Regions from separate parts of the Homo sapiens genome. Here regions 1, 3 and 4 are each linked to region 2. The links are contacts of gene promoters, found by promoter capture Hi-C in blood cells and fetal thymus (Javierre and others, 2016). All regions are on one chromosome and are shown on one strand. The core of a region is centred on a gene start or on the middle of the fragment in contact, and the rest is flanking DNA. Distances in the headings are between cores, read along the strand shown.

Region 1 (3,714 bases), core at 76-2,575, 420 kb after region 2:
AGGCGATAGGAAATTTTCAGCTCCATTATAATCTTATGGGACCACCCTTGAATATGCAGGCTGTTGTTGATTGAAACAGCATTACGTGGAGGATGACTGTATTTGATTCCTGTTTGAGATCTGGCAGGCTTTCTGTGCATGTACTGGCTCACCTGTAATATTGTTTAATGTGTGATTCTTGGTCTCTGTGTGTTTCAGTGTAAGTCATACAGACATTTGTGGGTGTGATGCCATGTGGACCAAGTGTGTGAGTTACCATGTGAGATGTATAGGCCACTGTGGATGTATTTGTAATGATATGTGAGCTATGTGGTCTGATTGGGTATGTGATACAGTGTGGCTGGTGCGTTTGTGTGTGTGTGTGTGTGTGTGTGTGTGTGTGTGTGTGTGTGTGTGTGTGTGTATGAGAGAGAGAGAGAGAGACAGAGAGAGATCTGGCATGCAGTGTGCTATCTGCACTGTCTGGCTGTGAGTCTGTGGTGTGTATCTGGGTGCTGTGAGTGTGTGTTCACTTGTGCATCTCTGTAGGAACCAGTGAGCTGTGCATATGTGTGTGCGTGCATGTATGTATGTTTGTGTGTCTAGTCATGTCCCTGTACACAGGGTATTGTTGTGTGCAAGCATGTGTATCAGTAGGCAGAGGGCTCTGTGTCTCTAAGAGCCAGAAGGCCGGTGCAGTGTGGGTTGAGGGAGCTGTGAGTTAGAGGGTTTAAACAGGCTTCTTGGCTGGCCTGGGTCCAGCTCTCCCCTCCCAGCTTCTGCAAATACTGCCTAGCAGATGCACTGAGTTTTTATACACATGGAAACAGCCCTTTAAATATTTACCCTCCAGCCTGGTGGAATGTCCTGCTTCTCTTGCCTGCCCTCCCTCCACAGGCACTCAGCTCTCCTGCTGCTCCCTGGGGCTTAGCTTGGTAGGTCTCTGCTGCCCCTGGGACTCACTCTGGATTCCAGGAGTCAGTGAGGAGGGAAACCCTAGGAAGGCTGAAGCCAACACAGCTCTCACTCTGGGTTGCATTCCTTAGCATGGCCTTCATAGCTGCCTTCAGATCCACTCAACTCCCTTACACAGTCACGGCATTTACATTTCATTTACTTCACTTTTACACGCAGATATGCCCAAGTCAGCCTCACCACTTGACACTCACTTCCACCTCCTTTCACAGGTCCAGCCCTTCACACCTCTCCAGGCTCCTCCTCTTCTTCCCTTGCCAGTCTTAGGAGCTTCTTCCCCTACTCCCCTGACCCATCCAAGACACTGTGAGCTGCCCTCCTTCCTTAAGGGCCAGGAGATCCCAGCCACGAAACTCTGTCCATGGTTCTGAACCGTCATACCTGGCAGATGCTTCGCTCCTTAACCTTGGGACATTGGTGGTAACTCTTATCCAAAAGTTCCCAGGAATTCTGAACTGGGTGAAGAGTTAGTGGTAGGTGAAATAAGATCATGTGCATATGTGTGTGTGTGTGCTCACACTGTCTCTGAGGGATAAAATAGAGACAAAAAGATAAAGGGAGACAAAAAGGAACAGACAGAGACAGGCACAGAGCCATAGAGAGAGATAGAGGAGAGAGACAGAGACTGTGAGACAGGCAGGCAGGGAGACAGATAGGAGAAGCCACTGGAATGTCAAAAGTGCTGACAAGTAATCCTACTTACAAAGAAGGCATCTTATTTTCCTCTGGGAAGCTGGAGGAGTACATGACCCCTGATTCTACATGCTGCAACAACAGCTCAGGTGGTGCAACTCCCTGCCAAGGTTTATACTCATTTAAAAGAAGAGTCTAGTAGTGTAATCTTGTGCCTGGATTTAGGATCCAGGGTGGGGCCTCAGTGCCCACCCTAGTCCAGGGCTGGCATCCTGGCAGGCCACTGTCTTTTGTCTTCCGGTACCATCCAGGCCTGCTAATCCCTCACCTCCCCCACCTGCCCAGGCTGAACAAAATTTTTAAGGTCAGATATCATCTGGAGGAAACAGCTGGACAAAGGTGGACTCTGCTTGCTGCCCAACCATGCTTGACATCAAGGTATGGGAGACAGGAGGGTGGGGACATTGTCCTCTTGGCTCAGGTTTCCTCCCCCTTTCAACCGTGCTGGCTTCTCCCACCCACATAGGTGGCTCCATGGATTACTTTCCTCTTGTGTCATTTCCCAGGCACCATTTAACTGCTGGACATTCTGCTAGGCACAGAAGTCACAACAGCCACCTCAGGAGCTTCACAGTCACCTTGGGAGATGGCTGTAATTTACATTTTACAGATAAGGCAGCTGAGGAACAGAGAAGTTAAGTAACTTGCCCAGGGTCCCACAGCTGCTAAGTTGCCGAGCCAGATTCAAATGCAGATAGTCTGGCATCCTCTCTGAATGGGACTCCTCCAAGGCTGATGTGTAGCATCATCCACTGGCAGCTCTCAAGGGTGGCACTATGTGGTTGTGGAGGCAGCACAGGCTTCCAAGTCAGAAGCCCTGGAAGTGGTGGCCCTTGGGGTTTCCACATTTTCTGGGAGGATTCAGTTGGGGCCTTCTTAGCCTGGCAGCCCCTCCTTATGTCCCAGGCAGGGGTACCCAGGATGTCAGGGGAAGGAGGTGGCAGCAAAAGCCCAGCCCGGATGGGCTGGTGGGTTCAGCCGACCATGAAATACCACGGCCTCCAGCTGCAGGTACCCCTGCCTACAGTGGCAGAGCCCGCCTGGCAGGGCAGGAGCCCAGCTAATGGCCATGTTTATAGCTCAAAGCATTATTAGCTCTTAGGAGTGCTCAGCCCTCGCTTGTTGTTGACAGCTGAGCTTATTGATTGAGTGACTTGATGTTTTTGTTTATTAAGTGCCCGGAGTGTCAGCAGATTTGGACCAGCCTTGGCTAGGTTGGGGAGGGAATGTATGAATAGGGGAGGCTGATGAACACATCCCAGCCTTGCTCATTTGTTCGGGCACATGTGTTGGGGTGATGGGTGTGTGTGTGTGTGCTTCTTGACCGTCGTGTTTCTGAATGCAATTTTAGAAGAACGAACCTTGGTTTCTGCACTCAGCAACCATGGAACAGCTTTTGGGGGGAACTGGGATTTGGATTTGGGAGGCCTGGCTTTGAATTTTGGTCTTATCTTTTCAAGCTGTGAGCTTGGAAAAATCCCTTACTGTCTCTGAACCTTGGCTTCCTTATCTGAAAAATGGAGATTAAAATAATACCAGCTCTGCCTACCTTTGAGACTGAGAGTTAATGAGGTGCAGCAGTTTGCAAACTGTAAAGTGCTGCACACATGTCAGCGGGTAGAACTGTTGTGAGCTGAACTGTGATGCCGTAATTACATTTATGTTTAGGAAACAGGTTGGTGGAGCAGAAAATGAACAAGAAGGCAGACCCTGGAGGACAGTTGGGAACTCAGGCTCTGAGGTGCCTAGACCTGCTGCTGCTGCTCATATTTTAGGAGGTCCCTGACACAGACCAGGGGAGGAGGGTTCCAGACCTGGCTCTGGCATCAAGGTGCTGTGTAGCCTCAGGAAAGTTGATTATCCTTTCTGGGATTTCCCTTTTATTTGTCAAAAAAAAAAAAAAAAAAAAGGCTTAGATTCAATGGTCTCTAAGGCTTTTTTCAGCTCAGCCTTTTCATGAATATAGGAATCACTGAATCTTTTCAATCCATATGCGCAGACATTGGTGTGATTCACATTTAAATGTACTGGACTTGAGTCTCTATGTTCAAAATAGCCTGTGTTTAA
Region 2 (4,071 bases), core at 9-2,508:
CACGCTGTGAAGCAAAATTGCTGTCACGTTATAATAAAAAGCAGGCTTTGCTTACTGTAGTGCAACATGATGTGAAGGAAAGCTGGTGGACCTGGAATAAGGGATGGGAGTGCAAGTCTGACTGTACAGTTTACTGACTGTTACCTCGGAGAAAACTCTTAATTTATCTGCATCTGTTTTCTTATTTCTAAAGCAGGGTAAATAATACCTACCTCACAGGGTAGTTGGGAAAATTACAAGGAATCCATGAATGCGCTGGTTGTGGGGGAGGGAGGCTGTTCTGAGCTCTCTAAAAATGTATACAAAATGTACATTCGATAAAAATGCACGGTTTTTTGGAGGAGGTCTATCACTTTCGTGATATTCACAAAGGGCTATATAACTCCCAAAGTTTAAGAACCACAGAGGTGAGGTAAGTGGAAGTACGGCAGACCCATAAAAGGAGGTCAGAACAAGTGAGTTTCAACACTTTTCCTAGAAGATCAATTTACAGAGCAACCTCTAGGGCCCCAATAATGAAAGGAGTGGACTTGAGGGAGGCTCGGGAGGCGCTGGGCCACGAGGAGGCACAATGCAGCTTTGAGGAAACCCGTCTGTCCCTCGTTCCGCACCCTCACAACTGCCGCAGCCCAGGGGCCCGAGAAGGAAATCGCTGAGGCCTGGCCGCCGCCGCTTTTCTCGAAGGGCTTCCCGCGCCGCTGTCGGAGAGTGGCGGGGACAGTGGGGTCGGCGGCGTAGGCCGCGACCCCCGGCGAGGCAGAAAGGAGCGCTCCTCCACCGGGTCCGGGACGCAGGCGGGAAGTGATCAAGGCTCCCTGAGTCCCACCCGAGCGCTCCCGGTTCAGCGCAGGAGGACGCACGCCGGGCCAGGGTACGAGAAGGCCCCGTGGGTTCCACAGGGAACACAGCCCGGGCGCCGGCCTCCCCGCCTCACGCGGCCCCGTGGGGGTCCCGGGGAGCCGCGAGCCTCCCCCTGGGCTCCCGGGAGGGCCGCCACGTCACGGAGGGTGTGCCCCGGGGCTCCGCAGGCGGGCGGGGGAGGAGCCGGGGGGCTGGCTCCCCGGCCGCGCCGAGCTCCTCGCCCCGGGCCCGCTGCCTTCCCCACGCCGGGCCCCGCCGCGCCGTGCCGCGCCGCGTAGCCCCTCACCTGCCTCTCCGGCTCCGGCGCTCACCGTAGGCCTCGGAACTTGCTCATTACAGGCCGCGGGCAGCCCACGACGGTTGGAGCGCCTGTCTCTTTAAATCCGGGTCCTAGAGCGGGAGGCAGCGCGCAGGCGCAAGAGCCAAGGCCGCGGCCACGCGACCGGTCCCCGCCCCCGTCTGCCACGTGGGTCGTAGTTGCATTCTGCCTGCCCTGTGATGTTTGGGAGTAGTTTTCAACCTGCAATCGCGGCCCGGGAAGCGGAGGTGGGGGGACGTGGCGGCTCCTCGGAACGCAGCCTGGCCTGAACTTCCGAGGCTCCCCTTGATTTTCTCATACTGTTAGAGAGGATCTGTTTTTAAAGATATTGGTGGAGAAACTATATTGTAATGAGGTCGGGGAAGGCAAAGATCGCGTCAATCTATTTTTTAAATATAATCCCTCTGTTTGTGTCCCGCAGACTCCCTAGTAAATAGTTTGTATTCAGTAGCTTTCATGGAATTGAGACGAGGCACTAAACAGCAGATAGATATAAAATGTAAAGGAGTGATGGAGGAGAAACTCCTTGATTGTATATCATTCAAAGTGTATTATCTCAAATCTGAAGCCAGCTCTTTGAGAGTTGGGATGGCGATTTTTACAAATGTAGCAGCCTGAGGGTAAGTGACCTCTTCAGAGTCTAGGAAGAGCAAACAACTGGGCCTTGTTAGGTAAGCAAAGAACAGGTTCCCGAGAGAATTCTGTGCTGTGTGATGAAGAGTGTCGTCTTTACTCTGTAGAGGACGGAGAGCCATGAAGAGTCTTAGGGAATACTGCTGAAGCTGGGTGGGGAGAGACTGAGGCAAGGGAACAAATCAGAAGGCTCTCATAGTGACCCATGTGGGAGATGATTCAGCTAGTTAGGGTGGAGAGTAAAGTGCGTTTTTGAAGATCATTTAGAATTTAAATGATCTTCTAGATAAAGTGCTCGTTTATGGATAAAATAATAATAATTTGAGTGAGCAGAAACATAATGGTACCATCAACTGAAATAGAAAATAGAGAGGAAGAGGAGGTGTTAGGGTTAGAAAGATGAGTTTTGTATTGGATACATTAAGTTTGTTTGACTAAGTTTAACTGCGATTCTACTGTTTGGAGGGGAGTAAAGCCTGCTTTTAATGCGCAGCAGAATGAACCAGGGCTTTGGTTCAACCAGGCAATTGGAAGGTCGCTGGAGACTCACGTCCTAGCTATGATAATTGAGTGATCTTGAGCACGTCTCTACAACTACATTTGCTACATTTTTTTAAGTTTCCTCAACCGTATCTGTCTTTTTCCAATGCTGTAATCACTAGCCACACGTGACTATTGAGCACTTGAATGTTGCATGGAATTGAGATGTGCTATAAGTGAAGAAAATACACACCAAAAAATTCATACTAAAAAAAGTAAAATATCTCATTAATAATATGTACCACATAATGACATTTAGGCCAACAATGGACCAAATATATGAGGGTGGTCCCATAAGATTATAATGGAGCTGAAAAATCCCTATCATATAGTGACAGCACATTACTCATGTGTTTGTGGAGATGCTGGTGGAAACGAACCTACTCCATTGCCAGTTGTATAAAAGCATAGCACACACTATTATGTACAGTATATAAAACTTTATAATGATAATAAAGGACGATGTTGCTGGTTTATATATTTAGTATACTATACCTTTTATTGTCATTAAATTAAATTAATTAATTTAGTTATTTTTGAGACAGAGTCTCGCTGTGTCGCCCAGGCTGGAGTGCAGTGCCACGATCTTGGCTCACTGCAACCTCTGCCTCCCAGGTTCAAGTGATTCTCCTGCCTCAGCCTCCCAAGTAGCTGGGATTACAGGCCCTTGCCACCACAATGGGCTAATAATTTTTTTTTTTTTTTTTTGCGACAGAGTTTTGTTCTTGTCGCCCAGGCTGGAGTGCAGTGGCAGGATTTTGGCTCACTGCAACCTCTGCCTCCTAGGTTCAAGCAATTCTCCTCCCTCAGCCTCCTGAGTAGCTGGAATTACAGGCACCCGCCACCACGCCTGGCTAATTTTTGTATTTTTAGTAGAGACGGGGTTTCACGATGTTGGCCAGGCTGGTCTCAAACTCTTGACCTCAAGTGATCCGCCTGCCTCGGCCTCCCAAAGTGCTGAGATGACAGGCATGAAACACTATGCCCAGCCTTATTGTTATTTTAGAGTATACTACTACTTATTGAAAAAAAAAAAGCTAACTGTAAAACAGCATCAGGTAGGTCCTTTAGGAGGTATTCCAGAAGAAGGCATTGTTATCAGAGGAGATGACAGCTCCACGTGTGACATTGCCCCTGAAGGCCTTCCAGTAGGACAAGATGTAGAGGTGGAGGATGGTGATATTGATGATCCTGACCCTCTGTAGGCTTACTAGGCTAATGTGTGTGTTTCTGTCTTGTTAACAAAAAAGTTTTAAAAGTAAAAGGAATTTTTTTTAATAGGAAAAAGCTTATAGAATAAGGATATAAAGCAAAAATATTGGCTGGGCACAGTGGCTCACATCTCTAATCCTAGCACTTTGGGAGGCTGAGGCAGAAGGAGTTCAAAACCAGCCTAGGCAACATATTTATAAGAAATAAAAATATTTATTTAAAAAAAGAAAAATATTTTTATACAACTGTGCTGTTTATGTGTGTGGTTTTATTAATTTATTTTTTTGAGATGGAGTTTCGCTCTTGTCACCCAGGCTGGAGTGCAATGGCACAATCTCAGTCCACTGCATCCTCTGCCTCCCAGGTTCAAGTGATCCTCCTGCCTCAGCCTCACAAGTAGCTGGGATGACAGGTGCCCACCACCACGCCTGGATAATTTTTTTATATTGTTAGTAGAGACGGGGTTTCTCCATGTTGGTCAGGCTGGTCTCAAACTCCCAACCTCA
Region 3 (4,166 bases), core at 179-2,678, 450 kb before region 2:
AGCGCAGCTATGTGCTTTCAATATATACGTTATTTAATGTGAATAGGTACTCTTCCTAGGTACCTTAAGATTTTAGAATAGGCAGTAGGCAGTTAATGCAGTCCAGAGTGGGGTAGGTGGAGCTTGCGGAGAAGGAGCAACTCAGACTTGCACATTCCCCTGTGATGAGTCATCGTGGCCTGTGTGCATTTCAAAAGCTATGTACTGAGACACCAATTCTTAGACAAGTTAGCAGGAAAAACATGTATTACCATAATTATCATAATAAGGGGGCTAAAGGAAAGCAAAGTGGCAGGAGGACTGTATCCGGCCAGACTAGCCTTTGGAGCATCCCAATAAAGGAATCTCCCAAATGGCCCCAAGATGCTCCCTACACTGCCAGGGGTAGGTATTTGAATCTGTCTGTCCTGGAGCAATCCGCTCCTTGCACCTTTGTCCTCTCCTGTCCATCCACAGCTGCCCTGGCCTGGTTCCTGGGGGCAACCGTGCTTTTAAGCAAGGGGGCAGCAGTGCTGCTCTGGGAATGCGAGTACAGCTGGAAAGGTTGAGTCACCCCTTTAGGGGCATGGTAAGAATGCCTGGTATTTCTTCAATTTTGATGAACCAAAATAGTGACAATTGCCCAAAGGCGCAGAGTCGATAATAAAGAGTGCGGACACTTCCGGAGCGCCAGCTGCCCAATAGAAATGCAGGCCACGCTGGGGAAGTGTGGAGCCGCAGCCCAGGATGGGGAGGGCCGGAAAACAGAAAAGGATTCGCGTTCTTTTTACTCTGTGGAGAGTGAGCCCGCGGACTGTAGCCTGGGCCTCGCCAAGTTCCTTTGTTCTTTGTTTTCTTTAAATTACCTTTTTTCTTTTTGTCTTAAAAAATACACATGGGTGAAAAAGAAACGAGAGCTCCCTAGAGATCACTCAGAGCTGTTTTCGTGGGTTTTTAACTTCCAGTTGCTCAAGGGTCCACGCTGGCATCTGGGGTGTGCTCGCACCTGCGAAGAATCCAGCTTCTAGGGAGCACCGCGAGCTGGTAAGTTGGTCCTGCTCCATCGCTAAACCTTCCAGCCTTAGTTTTTCATTTCTGGGGAGTCTGCTGGCTCGGGAGGAGGTGGGGCACTGGTAACACAACCCCACCACTCCCGGGAAGATCCCCGCACCCCCATCCCGGTCTGCTTTCTCTCCCTTCTGAAGCAGGAGAATAAGGGTCTGGAGGAAAATCCCAACTTTCCACAAACTTCCTTTGTAGCCCCTCCTTTTCTACATGGCAGATGAAAAACTGAAAATACCTCTGATTGGTCCCCTCCCGCAACCAATCAGACTGGTCTCCAGGGCCAAGTCTTCATGTGCATAGGAATGTAACTTTGTAACTTCGCTTTCTGCGTCCAATCAGATGTTTTCATAGGGCATAACTTTGTAACTTCACTTCAGCCTCCCATTGATCGCTTTCTGCAACCATTCAGACTGATCTCGGGCTCCTATTTCATTTACATTGTGTGCACACCAAGTAACCAGTGGGAAAACTTTAGAGGGTACTTAAACCCCAGAAAATTCTGAAACCGGGCTCTTGAGCCGCTATCCTCGGGCCTGCTCCCACCCTGTGGAGTGCACTTTCGTTTTCAATAAATCTCTGCTTTTGTTGCTTCATTCTTTCCTTGCTTTGTTTGTGTGTTTGTCCAGTTCTTTGTTCAACACGCCAAGAACCTGGACACTCTTCACTGGTAACATATTTTGGCAAGCCAACCAGGAGGTAAGCCCAAAGTCTGGGATTTATTTTTCTCCTTTCCCTTTTCCTTTCTGCTCCATACAGGTAAATCTCTCTCTTTCTCTTTTCCTTTCCAACGTGGGATCCTTGGTGGGTAGCGCCTAGACACGGAGGCGACTGCAGGTTTCTGGCCGGGGGCTACTCTCCAGTGCTGCCTTGAAGGCCAAGGAGTGAATGGGGATAGTTGCCCTGCCCAGAAGCGGGAAGGGCTCTTTTCTGTCTTTTCTGGTTGTGGTCCCTGATCCCTATGTGTGACGCAGCTTCTCCAGGGCGAACTCACACGTGTTTCAGGTGACTTAAACCTTCTTTCCTTATGTTAAATTCTTCCCTTCCCCTACTCTACTGGCTAAGGTTAAAAGAAACCCACCTAGCCTCCATTTCATATCATTAAAGTTCATGACTATCACTCTAGTGGAATGGGAACCATGGGAAAGCATGGCCTTATCAAATTATAAGGATGCTAGAAGTCAAGGCCTTCATCCAGAGACAAAAGGAAAGCTCACAGTAGGCCATCCCCTCTGGAGGGAAAACATGTAAAGTGGCACTGGTGACCACCTAAGGTCAGAGACGTCTGACGCTCTAAGATTGGACCCTAAAGGGGGATGCTCTGGAGGATCCTTTGGACCTCAGCCTCTCCAAGGGGGTTCCTTTGGTAGAGGTTCTTAGGCCTAGTACTAAGCCCTCCTTAGAATTTTCTCTTCCGGTTGCAGTAGTGTTTGGCCTCAATATTGTTTGGAATCTGGAGTTTGCTGTTGAATGGTAAAGTGGGATGGAGTTGCATGTATGCAGGCTCTTGTGCTGCTGTTCTAAGCAGGGTTGTGTCGGGTTAAAGTGTGATGTTCTCCTTTGGTGCTGTTTGGCCTCAGCGTTCTTTGAAGTGCGAGGAAGTTTGACCTTTAAAAATCAAACTGCCATGGAAACCGCTGACTTATAAATTGCTAAAGTTGTTTATAACCAATGTTTGGTTTCTCAAATCCATATTCCTGGGAAGACAATCAAAGCTTCAGGTACATTTGGCTACCCGATGGGCCATTTAAACATTTACAAAGGGATTTTATTCAATGTCACTTTCAATGCATGTTTTCTTGTTGTATAAAAGCTTTTCCCATGATTATGCTACAGTGTATTTTCACCAGGTAAAGAAAGCTTTTTATGGTTCACTGAGAACAATCAACCCCTTCACAACCTAGAACCCATAGGATAGATGTTCTCAGAACATCTACTGTAAAGGCCATAGTTACACAACAGACTTTAAATTCTTTTGTGAAAGTTATGATAGAATTGGCTGAACAGAGAAGTATCTGTGCAGCTGCTGGCACTTAGAGTCTATGGAGAAATACATTAAATGAAGATTAAGAGATTCAGTTGTAGGGGATTAATGAGGAGATTGTTTACTTAAGTTGGTAGATTCTTTATTTAGTTCATTATTTGATCTATTTAATTTTAACTGGTTTGGTTTATGGGAACCCTGGGCAAGGAGCATCCTCCAAACTCTTGGTATTATCCTCCCAATAGTCATCATAATAATAGGCTCCCTGGTGCACTGTATTCTCTCAAAGGTTTTCGATGTTTGCATGCAGCCATCTCTAGAATGTCAAATGGTCTCTCTTCAACTGGAATGATGAGAAGTGAAACAAATATGCGACCATGAGGACACTGTAACCTATGGATGGTGTGCTGAGACTGGAAACCCAAAATGATGGTAACTGAGAGCGGCGCTAAGGCCTTACGTTTTGGTTACATTCTCACCTAAGTGAGAACCTGAACAAAAAGGGGGAATTTTAAAAAACAAAATTGTGAAAGGCCAGTGTTTTGGACTGAGCTCATGGCCCCAACAGACCAAACCAAACCAAAATGGAGTTGCTCATTCTAAGACTTTAAGGAAACACATAGATCCTAGAACAGACCAAGTTTTTGTTTTTCTCCTGCAAACAGAATGTTTCAGTGAGCAGGACACCCTCCACCGGTAACACTTTCCTGTCTCTGTAGCAACTTCTAATAAACTGCAGGCTGTTGAGGACTTCAGAATGGTGGACTTGGAAGCTATAGGTCGGGTGGAACTTTTGCTCCTGCATGGGCTGGGGAGCAGCCCAGAAAATTTAAAGCATTACCAGAAAATTTAAAGAGCTGTGGGGCCAGTGAGCCAGGGATCTGCAGTGTTCAAGCAGAGCTAGAGAGGCAGGGAGGGCAGAGTGCTCTATGGTCAGGCCAGGCTTGGTGGGTGTCCAGACCTCCCAGGGTTATCCATCCTCCTGGAGTCCTGAACATGCAGGGAGTTGGGGAATAGGTTCTTTAGGTGAAATGCGACCAGGCACTGATGAACTGCATTGCTAGATCCTAAAAGAAAAACCAAGCACCCTCATGCCCTGCTGGTTTATTATCTAGAAGGCGGGAAGGATGAGAGCAGTGCT
Region 4 (3,989 bases), core at 847-3,346, 450 kb after region 2:
TACCTTGATGGTAATATCACAGATGAGGAAACTGAGGCACAGAGAAAGTTAAATAACTTGACTGAGGTTGTAGAGTTAGTGAGAGAGTTAGGATTCAAACCCAGACAGTCTGGCTCCAGACCCCACATGCTATATTGCCCATTGAAGCTTGGAAATAAAGTTGGCTGCCTGCTAGGCTGTCATTTTGTCAGCATGGAACCAGAGGACATGGTCACCAGCTGCCAGAACACCCAGGATAGACCCCTCTGCTGAATTGTGGCTGCTGCTGAACCCAGGCAATGCCTAACCCTGTTGGAACATCTCCTGCCATCCCTGCCTGGTGGGAGACAGTCCTTCTGTGCGAGTCTTGAAAGCTTATTCAGGTGCTGTCACTGAATGACAGGTGCACAAGCTTGTTAGCCTTGTAATGAATATCCCAGCCTCCTCTGGTGGGAGCCAGCCTGCCTAAGGATGATGGGGAATGGAGAGAGGCAGAGGAACCTCCTTCAAAAGGCTTCAGTCATTGTCAGAAAGTTTAAGAGAACACACCTGTGCTGGCGGCTAGCATGCAGATGCCAGCTGGCTGTTGGGTTGTCACTAAGGAGAGGGAATGAGAGAAAAGAACATGGGATTTGGATTCAGAGTTTGAATCTCAGCTCAGCCACTTTCTAGCTTTGTGACTTTTGGCAACTTACTTGACCTCCTTGAGCCTCAGGTTCTTTATCTGTAGAATGGGGTGCTAACACCTATCTTAGAACCCTGTTGGGAGGATTAGGGAAATCCCATGGGTAGTGCCTGGCAGATCCTGGGCATTCAGTAGGTAAAAGGTGTGGTTATAAGGAGGCCTAAATGCCAATGAGCCAGGTGCTGGGAGACTCTGTGGTTCTTGTTGAGAAGATGGAAAACCACACACAGGAGCGCTGTTATGTTTGTCTATTCAAGATTCCCCATCTTGGGGGAAACAACTCCCCATCTTTGGGGAATTTCCTGTCTCCCATTCCATGCAGTACTAGTGGAATTTCCAACCTCAGCATTTCAAACTCAGGGTGGGCATATGGCCCAAGCTCGACCTGGAATTTTATATCAGACACTTGGGCAAAAAACTCTTTCCTTGTGCTTGAGATTACTAAGCTGGATTTATTTAAGCCTAGAAATATCTAGGGCACAACACCTACCCCTACCCTTCTGTCCGACCTACACAACCCCATGGAGAAGCCTGTCTCCAGCAGGAAAGGGCCACAGACCTTTATATAAGAAAGAGGGCACTTAAGTGGTGGTATCATTTCAGATGTGTCCCCCTCCCCCCTCCCAGACTTCTTTATTAAATGAGCCAAGTGAGTCCTATTTTAGCTTCAGCTTTCTCAAGTTGGGTTTTTATAACTTTCAACCATAAGAAACCTAGCTACTACAAAGGAGGTATTCTAAGAGACTTGGGGCAAACTATAGAGGGCATCGTGCTAAAGGTGTTGGGGTCAAAAGTCAGGAAAGGCTGTCTTAGAGTGAATTTCCCCTGCCATGGTTCTCTTGCTTGTATTTATTTCTTGCATCTTTCATGTCCTTTTATCTTAGAGTATTTTACAGACTCCCATTGTGCTTGAGGGAGGCTTAGATAGTCAGGGCTGGAATTCTATACCTAGAGTTTTGTTCTAGCTTTGCTCGGTGGGCCTTATCTATAGACACTGGGTGCTGGGCAGGATGTACATGATCTGAGTTGTAACCCTAATGCCAAGAAGACAGCATATTCTTGACTTGGATGTGAGTTCCCAAGTGCCTCTGGGACAGTGCAGATGTACAAGATGCCAGAAGAATGAGCAATAGTGATAAAGTGAGGTTAAGCCAAAAGTTGGCCCTCCCAATTATGTTTGGGGGATGAGCAAGTGAGGTCCTGCTGGGGGCTCCTAGCATGCCCTCCCTTGATGCATGGGGTTAATTTGACTAAAGAAACTTTCTCTATGCAACTGTGATATAAATTGGGAAAAGGAACTCTGCCCTAGATTTAGAATTAGGTGAGCAGGTAGCCTTAGGTTATGTGTTGAGAAGAGTTAAAAGTGTTAAGAACACTGACATATTATAATCATAAAGCAAGGGAAAGAGGAAACTATTATTTCTTTGACTACATGTCACACACCATACTAGGTACTTCATAAACATCATCTCAGTGAAACCTCCTAAGAACAACTCTGTGCCTCATGCACTGCTGGTGGAAATGTAAAATGGCTAAGATGCTTCTGAAAACAGCCTGGCAGTTCCTTAGCTGGTTAAACATAGTTACCATATGACCCAGCAATTCCACTCCCAGGTTCGTGCCCAAGATAAATAAAGACACATGTCCACACAAAGACTTGTGTACAAATGTTCATACAATGTTATTCGTGATAGCCAAAAGGTGGAAACAACCCAAATAGCCATTGACTGATGAGTGGATGAATAAAATGTGGTACTGTCTATCTACAAAATGGCAAAAAAACAAATGAAGTACCTCTACTTGTTACAACATGAGTGAACCTTGAAAACCTTATTCTAAGTGAAAGAAGCCAGTCACAAAAAAGATCACATATTATATGGTACCCTTTACAGGAAAGTCCAGAGAAGGCAAATCTATAGAGACAGGAAGTAGATTAGTAGTTGACAGGGGCTGGGATTAGGGAGGGGATGGGGAAGCTGGGAATTGATGGCTAAAGGGAGGTGAGACTTTTTAGGGGGATAATGAAAATATTTAAAATCATTGGTGGTGAAGAATGCACAACTCTGTGAATGTGTCAAAAGCCACTGATCCATACATATTAAGTGGGTGAATTGTGTCGTTTGTGGATTATATATCAATAAGGCTGCTAAAATTGAAAGTTTCTTAGAGAAGTGAGAGATGGCAGCTCTTTTTCAAAAGTCTTGAATAATGATTTGACCTTTAAACTATAAGCATGTATAACACAGAAGAAAACAAAAATTAAATTAGAAATCACACACTAATTCTGGAAAAAAAAAAAAAAAAAAAAGGAGGAATAGTCCTGTAATGTATTACTGTTTCTGTTTTACAGAGAAGAAGCCAAGATTCAGAGAGGGCTAAATGATTCACTCAAGGTCAGGTTGCTAATAAACAGAGGAGCCAGAATTGGAACTTAGGTCAGTTTGAGTCCTAATGTTTAACCATTTCTAGGCATAAGAAGGATCAGATGTTCCTTGGAAAATCAGCCTCTTTGGGGGATTGTGCATGGGCCACGGACAAATGAGGGTGATCTCATCCAGCCAGCCAAGGCAGTCCAATTAGCCCTAGTGATCTGTGGAGTGGCGGGCACCCTTTCACCCATCCGCGTACTGTAAGAAATGCCTCGGGTCTGGATGCAAGACTCCATGCTTCCAAGTTTGTGTAGGAAGGAGGGGCTGGCAGGAGAGCAGCGGACAAGGATCTCAGCTCCACCTCTTCTCAAAGATTCCCATTCCAATTTCTGCCGCTGGCCCTAGGGGGATGCTGGCCCTTCAGTGTCACTCTGGCCCCACCATGGACAAACAACTCTTCTCTTTATACCCTATAACAGGGCCAAGTAGAGACCAGATGATCTTTAGTAAAGGCTGTGGCGAGTCTTGACTCTAGACGGTGGAAAGCAGGGTGGAGAGCAAGTCACTTTGTGGTTTTGAACCTCAGTTTTCTCATCTGTACAAGGGAGATAAGAATGCCCAGATTGTAAGAGCATGAAGATTTAATACTCAGGCAAAGCGCTGGTATGCGGGTGAGCACCCGATGCCTTTGTGTCCTTATGCCTGTGCGAAATCCTGGGGATAAGAGGTAGCAGTCAGGGCATTTCCACATTTGAATCCCTAAGCTTGTCCTCTTCATGTGTCTAAACTCACTTTGGAGGAGTAGCTCCTGTGAATTATTTCCTAGAAATGGCTTGGGAACCATCTTGCCTGGGGTTGAGTGTGATCCCTCAGGAGCTGGCTCCTGCCACTAAGTACTTGCCAGCTGCTGCTTTTAAGTGTGGCACTCTGAATGGCTGCATCGTCCCCACCTTGGG

Evidence for each region. The method cuts DNA at HindIII sites, captures the fragments that hold promoters and counts their contacts. A CHiCAGO score of 5 or more calls a contact.
Region 1: a contact is called between a fragment that was not itself captured here and the fragment with the promoter of LIG3 in region 2, in 1 of 17 cell types (M0 macrophages). The highest score is 5.5, in M0 macrophages.
Region 3: a contact is called between the fragment with the promoter of SLFN12 here and the fragment with the promoter of LIG3 in region 2, in 12 of 17 cell types (non-activated CD4 T cells, fetal thymus, total CD4 T cells and 9 more). The highest score is 12.7, in non-activated CD4 T cells.
Region 4: a fragment that was not itself captured here is called in contact with the fragment with the promoter of LIG3 in region 2 in 2 of 17 cell types (M0 macrophages and M1 macrophages); the score reaches 7.2 in M0 macrophages.

What each region holds. Positions count from the first base shown.
Region 1 is chr17:34,554,173-34,557,886 of GRCh38, reverse strand. No RefSeq gene overlaps it. Among named protein-coding and RNA genes, the nearest start is that of TMEM132E-DT, 23 kb to the left of the region's middle. RefSeq lists a silencer at 1,190-1,390. The HindIII fragment of the contact is 5,781 bases long and covers 1-3,714 here.
Region 2 is chr17:34,977,699-34,981,769 of GRCh38, reverse strand. LIG3 (DNA ligase 3) reads right to left here and starts at 1,258. Exons shown (of 20, transcript NM_013975.4): 1 at 1,148-1,258. RefSeq lists a silencer at 804-1,233. The HindIII fragment of the contact is 8,847 bases long and covers 1-3,643 here.
Region 3 is chr17:35,429,762-35,433,927 of GRCh38, reverse strand. SLFN12 (schlafen family member 12) reads left to right here and starts at 1,428. Exons shown (of 4, transcript NM_018042.5): 1 at 1,428-1,740. RefSeq lists enhancers at 1-66, 17-256, 1,077-1,296, 225-1,424, 793-1,518. The HindIII fragment of the contact is 4,520 bases long and covers 1-2,758 here.
Region 4 is chr17:34,533,129-34,537,117 of GRCh38, reverse strand. No RefSeq gene overlaps it. Among named protein-coding and RNA genes, the nearest start is that of TMEM132E-DT, 44 kb to the left of the region's middle. The HindIII fragment of the contact is 3,406 bases long and covers 394-3,799 here.